Linked DNA regions of Homo sapiens: region 2 is linked to region 1. Evidence: promoter capture Hi-C in 16 types of primary human blood cells and fetal thymus (Javierre and others, 2016). All regions are on one chromosome and are shown on one strand. The core of a region is centred on a gene start or on the middle of the fragment in contact, and the rest is flanking DNA. Distances in the headings are between cores, read along the strand shown. Region 1 holds the start of KCNQ5 (potassium voltage-gated channel subfamily Q member 5). Region 2 overlaps KCNQ5 (potassium voltage-gated channel subfamily Q member 5).

What was found. The method cuts DNA at HindIII sites, captures the fragments that hold promoters and counts their contacts. A CHiCAGO score of 5 or more calls a contact.
Region 2: a fragment that was not itself captured here is called in contact with the fragment with the promoter of KCNQ5 in region 1 in 1 of 17 cell types (M2 macrophages); the score reaches 5.8 in M2 macrophages.

The regions. Positions count from the first base shown.
Region 1 is chr6:72,620,123-72,625,848 of GRCh38, forward strand. KCNQ5 (potassium voltage-gated channel subfamily Q member 5) reads left to right here and starts at 1,942. Exons shown (of 14, transcript NM_019842.4): 1 at 1,942-2,465. The coding sequence starts at 2,068. KCNQ5-DT (KCNQ5 divergent transcript) reads right to left here and starts at 2,557. Exons shown (of 3, transcript NR_186827.1): 1 at 2,410-2,557. RefSeq lists enhancers at 327-516, 2,627-3,578 and silencers at 1,937-2,196, 3,227-3,276. The HindIII fragment of the contact is 6,363 bases long and covers 898-5,726 here.
Region 2 is chr6:72,823,004-72,828,491 of GRCh38, forward strand. The region is part of intron 1 of KCNQ5 (potassium voltage-gated channel subfamily Q member 5); the gene reads left to right. Among named protein-coding and RNA genes, the nearest start is that of MIR4282, 140 kb to the right of the region's middle. RefSeq lists an enhancer at 2,444-2,493. The HindIII fragment of the contact is 2,683 bases long and covers 2,032-4,714 here.

The sequences.
Region 1 (5,726 bases), core at 692-3,191:
AAAGTCCCTGCACAGAAACTCCATAGGGAGTCTAAATATAGCAACAGCACCCCCTCCCGCCCCCTCCGCCTTCAGTCAGGGTCCCGCGCAGCTCTAGGATTGGAGAGCTTACTCCAGGGCGCTCTCTGCATCTGCCTCGAATAGCACCGCACGGAGCAACCTCTCTCGCACCTCCACAGTGCGTGGGTGTGAAGTGTATTAGGGGAAAGCTAGAGAGTGACTCTGGGTGATGGTGCTCGGCTCACAGTCACATGGCGTCGCCGCCAGCTGCACAGAGCTCCCAGCTAGCTTCTGCTGCCCAGAGGCTTGGGGGGAAGGAGGGAGGGAAGCAGGCTCCTGCTGGTGACCAGGAGCAGGCGAGAGGGCTTCACACAAATAATAGTGATAATAAAGAGTAAAAGCAAAGCATTTAAATCGAGCTATTGCAGAAGACAGAAATCAGCTGCCGCGGGCGTGGGTGTGTGTACAGGGTGGGGGAGAATTGGGAAAGTATTTATCTCGGAGGGGCGGAGACAGCTGCAAGAAGACTTTTGTCTTAGCATTGTTTTAGCCTTAGGAAAGGAAAAGGCCCGAAGGAATCCACCTTGCAACTATCTGCTATGTCTTTGTGGTGGAAGCTTAGTTTTGCCTTCAATTTAATTTGATGATTTTCTTTCATATTTGGGGAAGAGCCACTCTGTTGGAAGAAGTCCCCGAGCCTGGCACCCTTCAGTTTTCCCTATGCTGAATGTGAGATTTAAACTGCCTTTTCTTTGTAATACACTGTTTCTGAAGGCCAGAGGCTGCGGCCAGTGGCACCGTGGCCTCTCTCTCCGCCAAGGGCGCATAGGCTTTGGGCCACCCGGGTGCCAGGGGTGGTGGAAGACCCAGTCAGTTGTTCCTTGCAACAGGTCTCTAAGCTTGTATGTTACAACATAAGGTGGGTGGGGTCGGAACCCCGAAAAGCCGGCGTCCTGGACACCCCATCCTCCAGGTGTTCTTTCCCAGACACTGGGTCCTCGCCGCCGCTGCTGAACTTCTCAATCATATGACTTTCTCGGACTTAAATGGAAATTTCTTGACGGAGGGAACTGGGTTTGTTCTCCCAGGCTTCGCGCTGCAGTCAGGCAGAGCCCCGGGGCAGCTCGCTCACCGCGGAGGAGCCACTTTGGAGTTTTACGCCCTTTCCACACCCCACCCATGGACTGGAAAGGATGTTCAGTTACTCGCGAGCTTGTCTGATACTGGGATGGAAAGTCACAGTCCGCAGGCTGGAGTGAGGCGCGGGAAGATGCCTGGTCCTTGCCTCGCGGACTTGGCAGCCGCGTCCTGCGGGTCTGTCCACTGAACTGCTGAGGACTCGCCCGTGTGCGGGGACCCGAGTGCCACTTCCCGGAGCGTTACCTTGCGCTCCAGCCTCCAGGCTAGATAATACCTGGAAGGCAGGGCAGGGCTGTTCCCGCTCTCACCCCTTGCGGAAGGATGGCAGGATCCGGCGCAGCGACGTAGCAGCGGGAGGGCACAGCGACCTGCATCTCCAGTTTCTCCTCAGGACACAAGGCTGACTTCACCTTCCGGACAGCTGCAAAGCCCCTGCCAGAACCAAACCGAACTCGCGCCTCGGAGAGGGGCTTCTGGGGCCGTTTCGCTGCAGGGCGTGGGGAGTGGAGAGAGGGAAGGGGAAGCCTGGGGCTGGGTGTGCGCGCGTGGGAGCGCGCCTCGGAGCGCCCCGCACTCCCCCACTCTATCCCCGGGGGCAGTTTGGGAAGGAGGGAGTGGTAGTCGCGGGAATGAGGGAGCAAGAGAAACCCTCTCAAAGTGACGCCCCAAACAGGTCCGGATTTAGAATTCGAAGCTAAAGGCTGTTAGAAATTGGGACTCCTCGGCCTCCTCTGCAGCCCCTCCTTTCCCGCCCCGAAGCCCGGGCGGTTTGCTGGCTGCCTGCTTCCCCGCCCCCGGCTCAGAGGTCTCTGGCTGGCGGGCGCCCCGTCGGCCGCCGGCTTCCTCCTTGAAACCCGCCGGCGCACATGAGGCCGCTGCCCCCGCCGCAGGCGCTGGCGGCCCCCTCGCGGTGCCCGTGGTGATGCCATGCCCCGCCACCACGCGGGAGGAGAGGAGGGCGGCGCCGCCGGGCTCTGGGTGAAGAGCGGCGCAGCGGCGGCGGCGGCGGGCGGGGGGCGCTTGGGCAGCGGCATGAAGGATGTGGAGTCCGGCCGGGGCAGGGTGCTGCTGAACTCGGCAGCCGCCAGGGGCGACGGCCTGCTACTGCTGGGCACCCGCGCGGCCACGCTCGGTGGCGGCGGCGGTGGCCTGAGGGAGAGCCGCCGGGGCAAGCAGGGGGCCCGGATGAGCCTGCTGGGGAAGCCGCTCTCTTACACGAGTAGCCAGAGCTGCCGGCGCAACGTCAAGTACCGGCGGGTGCAGAACTACCTGTACAACGTGCTGGAGAGACCCCGCGGCTGGGCGTTCATCTACCACGCTTTCGTGTGAGTACCCGCGCCCCCTGCTATGCCCGCTGCAGGGGACCACTGTCCCTGGCCCCCTGGGGCGTGCTCCGCGCTCGCGCCCTTGGGCCCCCGCGCGCGTGCACACGTGGTGGCTTTTATTTCTTCGCACGTGTTCGTGGTCTTCCTTCTGGAGCCTCTCCCCTCCCCCAGCCCCACTTCTCTCATCTCTACAGCTTGAACCTTTTCCCCGAGGACACCCAATGAACTGCCCGGTAGCTTCAGGCTCCCGGGGCGAGAGCCAGGCAGACGCGGGACTTAGGCTGCGCGGATAATTGGGAGCAATTAGGTCCCAAGATACGTAAACTTCAACCGAACGGGGCGCCCGGGAGCTAGGGAATGCAAAGGGAGGACAGGCGCCCGTGTGAGGCTTGAGAGTATACTGGAGAGGTTAGGAGGTGATGGCGGGGTAGGACGGGGAGAAGTGAGGGGGCATCGAGGGCTAGGTCCTCAGTCCTAGGGGCGGAGTAGGGGAAGCTGCTACTTGGAGAGAGCTGCTAGGTTTTAAGCGCGCCCGGAAACACGCCTCGCCACCACCCAGCCACCACCAACGGAAAATCTGTCAGTGCATGTAGCCCTTCCTGCCACGGAGAAGGTGGCCAAGGTCTAGAGGAGGCCAGCAGGCCAGGCGAAGCAACGCTCCCGCGCTGCAGGGGGCGGGGAGGCAGCGGGGAACCTGGGGCGCAGGAACGCGGGCGGAGGTGCGATAGCAGAAGCGCAAATGGGTCGCCTCTGACAGAGATCGGGCAGTGGGTTAAGTCCCCGTTTGTGGCGCGGAGTCAAAGAGTGTGTGTGTGTGTGTGTGTGTGTGTGTGTGTGTGTAGTAAGCCTTCTCCATCTAGCAGAGAATGCTTAATGAGAAAATGATTGGAAGCAAATGTTTATTTTTCCCTTAGGCATTTAAAACCTTTCAGTGGCTTTAAAGTTTACTACTGTTTTTCCCACAAAGTCCATTCATTCAGTCTCCTATTAGAGTTACGTTTATCTGGGCATTTTAAGGTTGTTTTTATAATGTTACCTCGTGTCTAATTCTTTTTTTCTTCCTCTTCTCCTTTTGCTTCCTCTTTTTTTAGTATTATTATTTCTGCTTCTTTTTTGTTAAGATGAAATATAAAGACATCAACCTTAGAAGACCAGTAGAGAAAGTTGCAGATACTCGCTGATACATTCCTTGTTTCCTAGTAAAATAAGTTTTGAGCACACGGACTAGGTTTCTTTTAGAAATAAGTTATGTCATCCATACATAGCTCTCTCCTGGGATGCAGAATTAGCATCAACACCAGAAACGTGTTTTGAAATAACATGGAAGAAGGGCTGGTTTTGTAACTAGGTGAACCTGGAATTCAACCACATAGGAGTCAGGAAATTGGTGGAGTCTACAATCTGTGGGGCTCTGGTGTCTGGAAAATTTTACAGTCCCAGATTGACGTGAACATGTAGCATTAGGCAGAATATTCCAGCCAACTTTCCGTTTTACAATGCACACAAGGAGAACGGTTGTGTTGCATCATCATTACATCAAAAAGTATAACTTTTATGTAAAATTCACATTTATTTAAATGTGGTTAGGATAATGATAGAGAAATGCAACTGACACTTTTCTCGTTAATCTCCTCTGACCTGATATGTAATTAAACATATTACTTAATAAGCCTGGTAAATTATTTTGACCTGTCAGAATATACTAAAATAATTTAGCAATTATAATGCTCAATTTGGTAGCAAATATATATACTGTATAGGTTATGATTTTTTCTTTACAACAGTATGCTCAAAACATTTCTAGCCTTTCTTTTTTTTATATTATGCATTGTATATTCAGAGAGAGTTAAAGAAAGCCTTGGTTGGTGCACATACTTTGCATCTCCTAACTTGTTCTTGAACATGAATGAGAACTTGCAACACAACATTTTCTTTTCCATGTGTTGGTGTTAACAGGTTTGTATGGGCTTACAGAATTTTAAAACATTAATAAATGATTTTTCCAAAGGTTCAAGGTTGGATACTTCTCTGTCTACCAGGCTTTATCAGTCTAGCAGTATCTTTAGTAGTAGACAGGAAATAAATTGTGTACTTAATAGATGTAGCAAATGTGAAGTTTTGATTATACATTTTAGAGTCTGAAACTGCAATGCCTCAGCAATTAGATAGGGGTGCTATATCCACATTAGCACAAAGAGGGAATGGATAGTATCATCTTTTGGGAGGATTGTGCACAACTAAGCAGACCCTGAGGAAAGAGGCCATCTTTGGCAGTTGCTGCTTGTGATTTTAAATGAGCTTTAGAATAGCCAGACTTTACACATTACATTCATTTATCGAAGTTGCTTTATGCTGTAAGTTTAACTAGACCCCAATAAAATAATTTCGAGAGAGGTGTAACTAACTAATTCCCTGCCAGCTTGGGAATCCCCAAATCTTATTTTAATAACAGTATTTGTAGCATATTAAGGTTCTTGCCAAGAACAAGTGCACCGTGATTAATGAGGTACTTCAGGGGTGAATTTACTTGGTCAACCAGTGTTTTCACTGCCAAGAAACAAGAAAAGCATGTTTAAAGTTATGCTTGAGGTAAATATAAATTTCTATTATTTATGCAAAAATAATTATTATAATGGTATTTTAGGGTTATAAAATGTCTTTTCAAGAGTACATATCCTAGCCTATTGATAGGATGGCTGGACAGAGCAAGGGATGACCTACTTCAAATATTTTCCCTTAAACTTTATAAATTAGTGGAGATTAGGAGATCCTTGCCCTTACTATTCTTTAGGATTTACCTGACAGCCATATTTCCTATCTTCAACTTTTCTTCATTTTATTAGTGTGCTATTCAAACATGAGGTGGCTCATTTCCCTGAATGTTGTTTGTCCCTTTTTAATTCCTCCTTGTTTAAGGAAAATTTTGAAGAATAATGAGGGTAGTAGGGGGACACAGGATGAGGCTTCATATATAAATTTGCGTTGATGCAGCAAATGTGGTTCTGAGAAGTTACATGGGAAACGGTGTTGCAGATACATGTAATTGATCACTTTGCCTAATGTATCTTTGCCTGACTTAATGCTATGGATGTGAATTATAGATATTAAACAAGGAGACAAGAAGAAGTCACCCAAGCTAGGAGCTCTGAAGTCATCCTTTTTCTCATACTTACTCCTTCTGGTCAGGCAAAAGGTCATTAACTATTGTTTGTTTACTTTATAGGTATTTTTCAAATACATTCCCTTTTCTTCTTTACCACT
Region 2 (5,488 bases), core at 2,123-4,622, 200 kb after region 1:
GGCCCACCTTGATCATATAGGATAATCAACCCTCCCCAAGGGTCTTAATCACTTCTCCAAAGTCCCTTTGCCATATAAGGCAACATATTTATAGGTTCCAGGGATTAGAATGTGATTCTATTTGGGAGACCTCCCCAACCCCCACTTAATTGTAAATTTGAAACTACGTGTAATACTTTTCACATATTGCATTGAAAATAAACATGTTAATATTTTTATTAAGACAAGAAAGTTGTTTTTTAAGATCACAACAAGCAGTTACTTGGAATTTTCATGAAAGAATATTTACCACATAGTCTTAATACATCTTGGTGGCTAGATACCAAATTGTGGTTTGCTGACTTCTTTACACTGATTATATGTATCATTAAAAATGGATGAGACCTAAAACTGCCAGACTCCATCCAATACAAAAATACAAGTATTTGTAGGAAACTCTTAGAATTTTCACATGTAAGAATATGTCACATTTCTGAAAAAAATTCTACCCAGTGACACCATTTCTTACTATGCCTATGTGTTTTTTCAGCGTTAGTATTTGAACATAAACACTTTTCCCTATAAAAGCCTATAAGCCAATAGCAGCTGCAGAAGGGAGACCTGCAAGTTGTTGGCAGGCTCTGGGGCTCACTCGGGTTCCTGACCCAGGCCTTTCTGAGTCTTTCAGATGCTTCACACTTCCCTGCACATCCTACTTCTGTGACACCCCCGAAGTTGCACTTATGGTCCAAGCTAAATGCTACCTCAGGAGCTCAGAAATAAAGAACATTGGAGTGAAAAAAAATTCCGAATTATGCTTGTAAACCAAATATATATGGATAGTGTGAATTGTGCAGACAACACATTCAAATACATTTCATATGGTGAAGTCTAGCCAACCTCAAATCTATTAGTCTGATCTACTTCATCCACTACATTTGTGTAAGATTACCCTTCTTTCATAGTAAACACATATGTAAAATATTTTAATGTGTTTTTGTTAGATTCATTTTAATGTTTCCAAACTGTTTCTATTAATATTAATAAGTACCATTTTATATGTTTTCTCCTATATTTCTTGTTTTCATCCAGGACTACTAGATTCCAGTAAGAATAAAATTAAACATTAGAGGTTTGTCTTCCATATTGTTTAAGAAAATTAGTTTCCCTTTTTAAATAATTACTAATATTTGAAGATTATGAATCATAAATTAATCACAAGTGCCATACCTATTATTTTAGAAGCAATTGAGCAATATAAATGGTCTTCAGTTTTACCAGTTCTTGATCTGTAGTAAATTCCAGCGGTGGTGGGGTCTGTGAAATAATGAAGAAAAAAATTATTTTAAAAAAAGAGAGGAAAAATGATACCTAAATTAGAAAATCGTTGGTTTTATTTCTTGTATCAAAATATCTGATAATTTTAACATTCATTATGTGTTCTTTTAAGAACTGATGCTCATCAGTTTTCTCATCAGTTTTTCTGTTTTTCACTTGGCATTTATTGATATTTTCTATTGCCTGAGTAATTTAAGAGCCTGCAAAATTAACCTGCCTTTCAATTTGCACATGTACTTATTATGGTAAAATCAATATTTTCATCCTAGGATTGGTCATGTACTTTGCAGCCTAATGATAAGGAGAAAAATAACCTCAGAAGAGTGAAGCTGTGCTGGCCAGCAATGGAGATTTGATAGGGAAGAAAGGTGTCATATCACCTGGATATAGCCAACTAACAGCTTGATATATATGATTCCAAGCCAAAACCTACATTTAGTCTCTCTCTCTTTCTTTCTCTGTCTCTGTGTGTGTGTGTGTGTGTGTCTCTCTCTCTCATCTTTATACTATAGATTATAAAATTTGGATACGTAAATAGTCATCCCACTTATTTCTAACACAATTCTGTGATAATAATGCCTTTTCAGTGTGTAGCTTTCATTGTTTTCAAAGCACCTTTATAGCCCTTCTCTCCTTTGATCTTTACAACAACCCAGAGAAGTGGGCAGGAGAGACAGTAATCTTCCCATTTTGACACATGAAGAAATCTCTTCAAGCTTCACTGTCTTTGAGGACCTCTGGGTAATGATGTCATCTGTCCTGAAACTGCCAGATGACTTTTGCTCTAGAAGAAGGCTAGGGAGAAAAAAACAAAACAAAACAACAACAACAACAAAAAAACGAACATTTAGGCTGGGAGACTGGGCTGTCTTTTCCCCCTTCACCCCTAAAAATCTACTTTGCAAAGAGAGCAACATCCACTCACCATCCCCAACACTTTCTGTTCCCCTTCCCTGATTTCTATTTTTTCCACAGCACTTACTACTTTGGGTTGTGCTGCACTGTATTTCATTTATTTACTTACTGTACTTGTTGTCTGGCTTCCCCACCAGAATGTAAGATCCTTGAAAGTAAGTATTTTTGTTTGTTTTATACATATCTCCCCAGCAACAAGAACAGTGCCACTGGTAGAAGGCATAAGAAAATGCCAGAATGAGTCACTGAGTGCAGACTGGAACTGGGAACAGGAACAGTTAGCTGGTGGTCCACAGGGAAGGTTCTCTCCTTTTCCTTGGTGACAGTGAGAAGTCTTATTTGCAAGAGGAAGAGAGCATGACTTAGAATAACAGTTTGGCTTTAGGTGGGACCTATACTATGCAACATGTGGAACTTGGAGGGCCTTGGAGAAGCTGAGCTTGGGAGCAGGCTCACTTGCCTGGGGAAGGGAAGTCTCTCAGCCCATTCTTTAGCCACCTAGCAATAGTTGTTAGTCAGTCCTGTTTGTCTACCCACACTAGCACATGGGAGGCACTGTATTTGTCAAATGAATGAATGATGAATGAATGAAACCAGTCATTTATATATTGAAGTAAATCAGTGTCATGGAATGTTTTATGTTTAAATGAAGAGAGAAAACTTTAATCAGATTAAATATAGGAAGGATATTTGGGATCTAGAAGGCCAACCCAGTTGTTCAATCACAGTTGCCTCCATGGGGGTCAACCTTAAGCGTTGTGCCTGCAAGCAATCACACTTCTCTGGTGGAAAAGCCATTCTGATTCTGGGGCCCTTTTTCCACCATTTCCCTTCATCCACAGCAAGGAGCTTCAGCTCTGGAGACTGTAATTTGCACAAAGCAATTCAGGGTATAAAAGCAAAACTACACACTTGCAAGGTAAAGATACCAATTCATTCGACTCTAACCATCAAAAGATACATATACACATATATGACATGAGGAATACTTTAGTCACCAGTTACCCTTCCTGCAAGATTAGTCATTAGATCCCATGATAGGCCTTGTTAATGCCATGGAGAGAAAAGAGATAATTATAATGAGTTAAATTTAGAAACAACAGTCATTTTTTGTGGATTAGAAATAGTGAAAGTCAGTGTCTTTCTATCAGTCTTTCACATCAAAAGCTACAGGAAAATCATAAGAAATAATGAATAGAAGAAATATGTACTATTTCTAATTGAAAAATGTCTTTTATTTCAGCTCCCTTGTATGGCTACCTGCTTAAATATATTCATGCTTATGTTTAATGTCTCCTATAGGTTCCTGCTATAATCTTCTTTTTTTTAATTGTTCTTGGGTTTTAAAAAAATGTTTGTTTGACAAATAATAATTATACATTTTCATGTGATAGATAGTGATGTTTCAATCCATATAATGTATAATGATCAGAACAGGGTAATTTGCATATCTATCATCTCTAATATTTATCATTTCCTTGTGTTAGAAACATTCAGTATATTTCTTCTAGCTATTTGAAACAATATAATACATTATTGTTAACTGTAGTCCTTCCACAGTGGTATAAAACATTATAACTGATTCCTCCTATTTAGCCATAATTTTTATATCCTTTGACAAATCTCTCCCTATCCCTCCCTTCCCCCTACCCTCCCAAGCCTCCAGTTTCCTCTGTTCTACTTTATACTTCCAAGAGATCAACTTTTTTTAGCTTCTGCACATGGGTGAGAACATGTGGTGTTTAACTTTATGTTCCTGGCTTATTTCACATAACGTAATGTCCTCCAGTTCCATCTATGTTGCTATGAATGATAGGAATTCATTCTTTTTATGGCTGAATAGTATTCCATTGTGTATGTATGCCACATTTTCTTGATCCATTCATCTGTTGTGGTACACCTCAGTTGATGCTGTATCTTGGCTATTGTGAATAGTGTGGCAATAAACATGGGGGTGCAGAAGTCTTTTTGATACAATGACTTTCTTTCCTTTGGATAAGTTCCCAGTAGTGGCATTGCTGGATTATATAGTCATTCTATTTGTGGTTTTATGAGAAACCTCCATACTGTTCTCTAGAGTGGCTGTACTAGTTTATGTTCCCAACAAGAGGTATAATATACAGTTCCCTTTTCTCCACACCCTCACCACCATTTGTTATTTTTTGTCTTTTTTATAATAGCCATCCTAACTGGGGTAAGAAGATACCACATTGTGGTTTTGATTTGCATTTTCCTGATGATTAGTGATGTCAAGCATTTTTAAATACATTTGTTGGCCATTTGTATATCTTCCTTTTATAAATGTCTGTTCAGATAATTTGACCATTTTTTACTCATATTATTTGGGTTTTTGCTGTTGATATGTTTGAGTTCCTTGTATATTCTAGATATTAATCCCCTATTGAATGAGTAGCTTACAAATATTTTCTTCCATTCTATAAGTTGTCTTTTTGCTCTGTTGATGTTTCCTTTGCTGTGCAGAAGCTTTTTAGTTTTATATAATCCCAGTTGTTTATTTTTGCTTTTGTTTCCTGTGCTTTCGAGGTCTTGATCATAAAATATTTTCCCAGTCCAATGTCCTGAACTGTTTCTCATATGTTTTCTCCTAGTAATTTTATCATTTCAGGTCCTACATTTAGGTCTTTGATCCATTTTGAGTGGATTTTTATATAGGGTAAGAGGTGGAAGTCTAGTTTTATTCTTCTGCATACGGATATCCAGTTTTCCCAGCAGCATTTATTGACAAGACTGTCCTTTCTCAAATGAGTGTTCTAGGAACCTTTATTAAAAATCAGTTGGCTGTAGATATGTGAATTAATTGTTGGGTTCTTTATTCTGTTCCATTCTTCTGTGTGTCTGTTTTTATGTTAGTACTATGCTGTTGTAGTTCCTGCAGGTTTGTAGTATATATTGAGGACTGGTAGTGTGGTACCACCATCTTTGTTCTTTTTGCTCAGGATTGCTTTGGCTACTCAGAGTCCTTTGTGGCTCTATTCAAATTGTAAGTGTTTTTTTCTATTTCTGTGAATAATGTCATTGGTATTTTGATAGGAATTGCATTGAATCTGTAGATTGCATTGGGTAGAATTGTCATTTCAACAATATTAATTCTTCTAATCCATGACCATAGGATCTTTCCATTTGTTTGTATCCTCTTCAATTCCTTTCATTAGTGTTTTGTAGGGTTCCTTATAGAGGACTTTCACCTTCTTGGTTAAATTTATTGCTAGGTATTTTACTTTTTTGTAGCTATTGT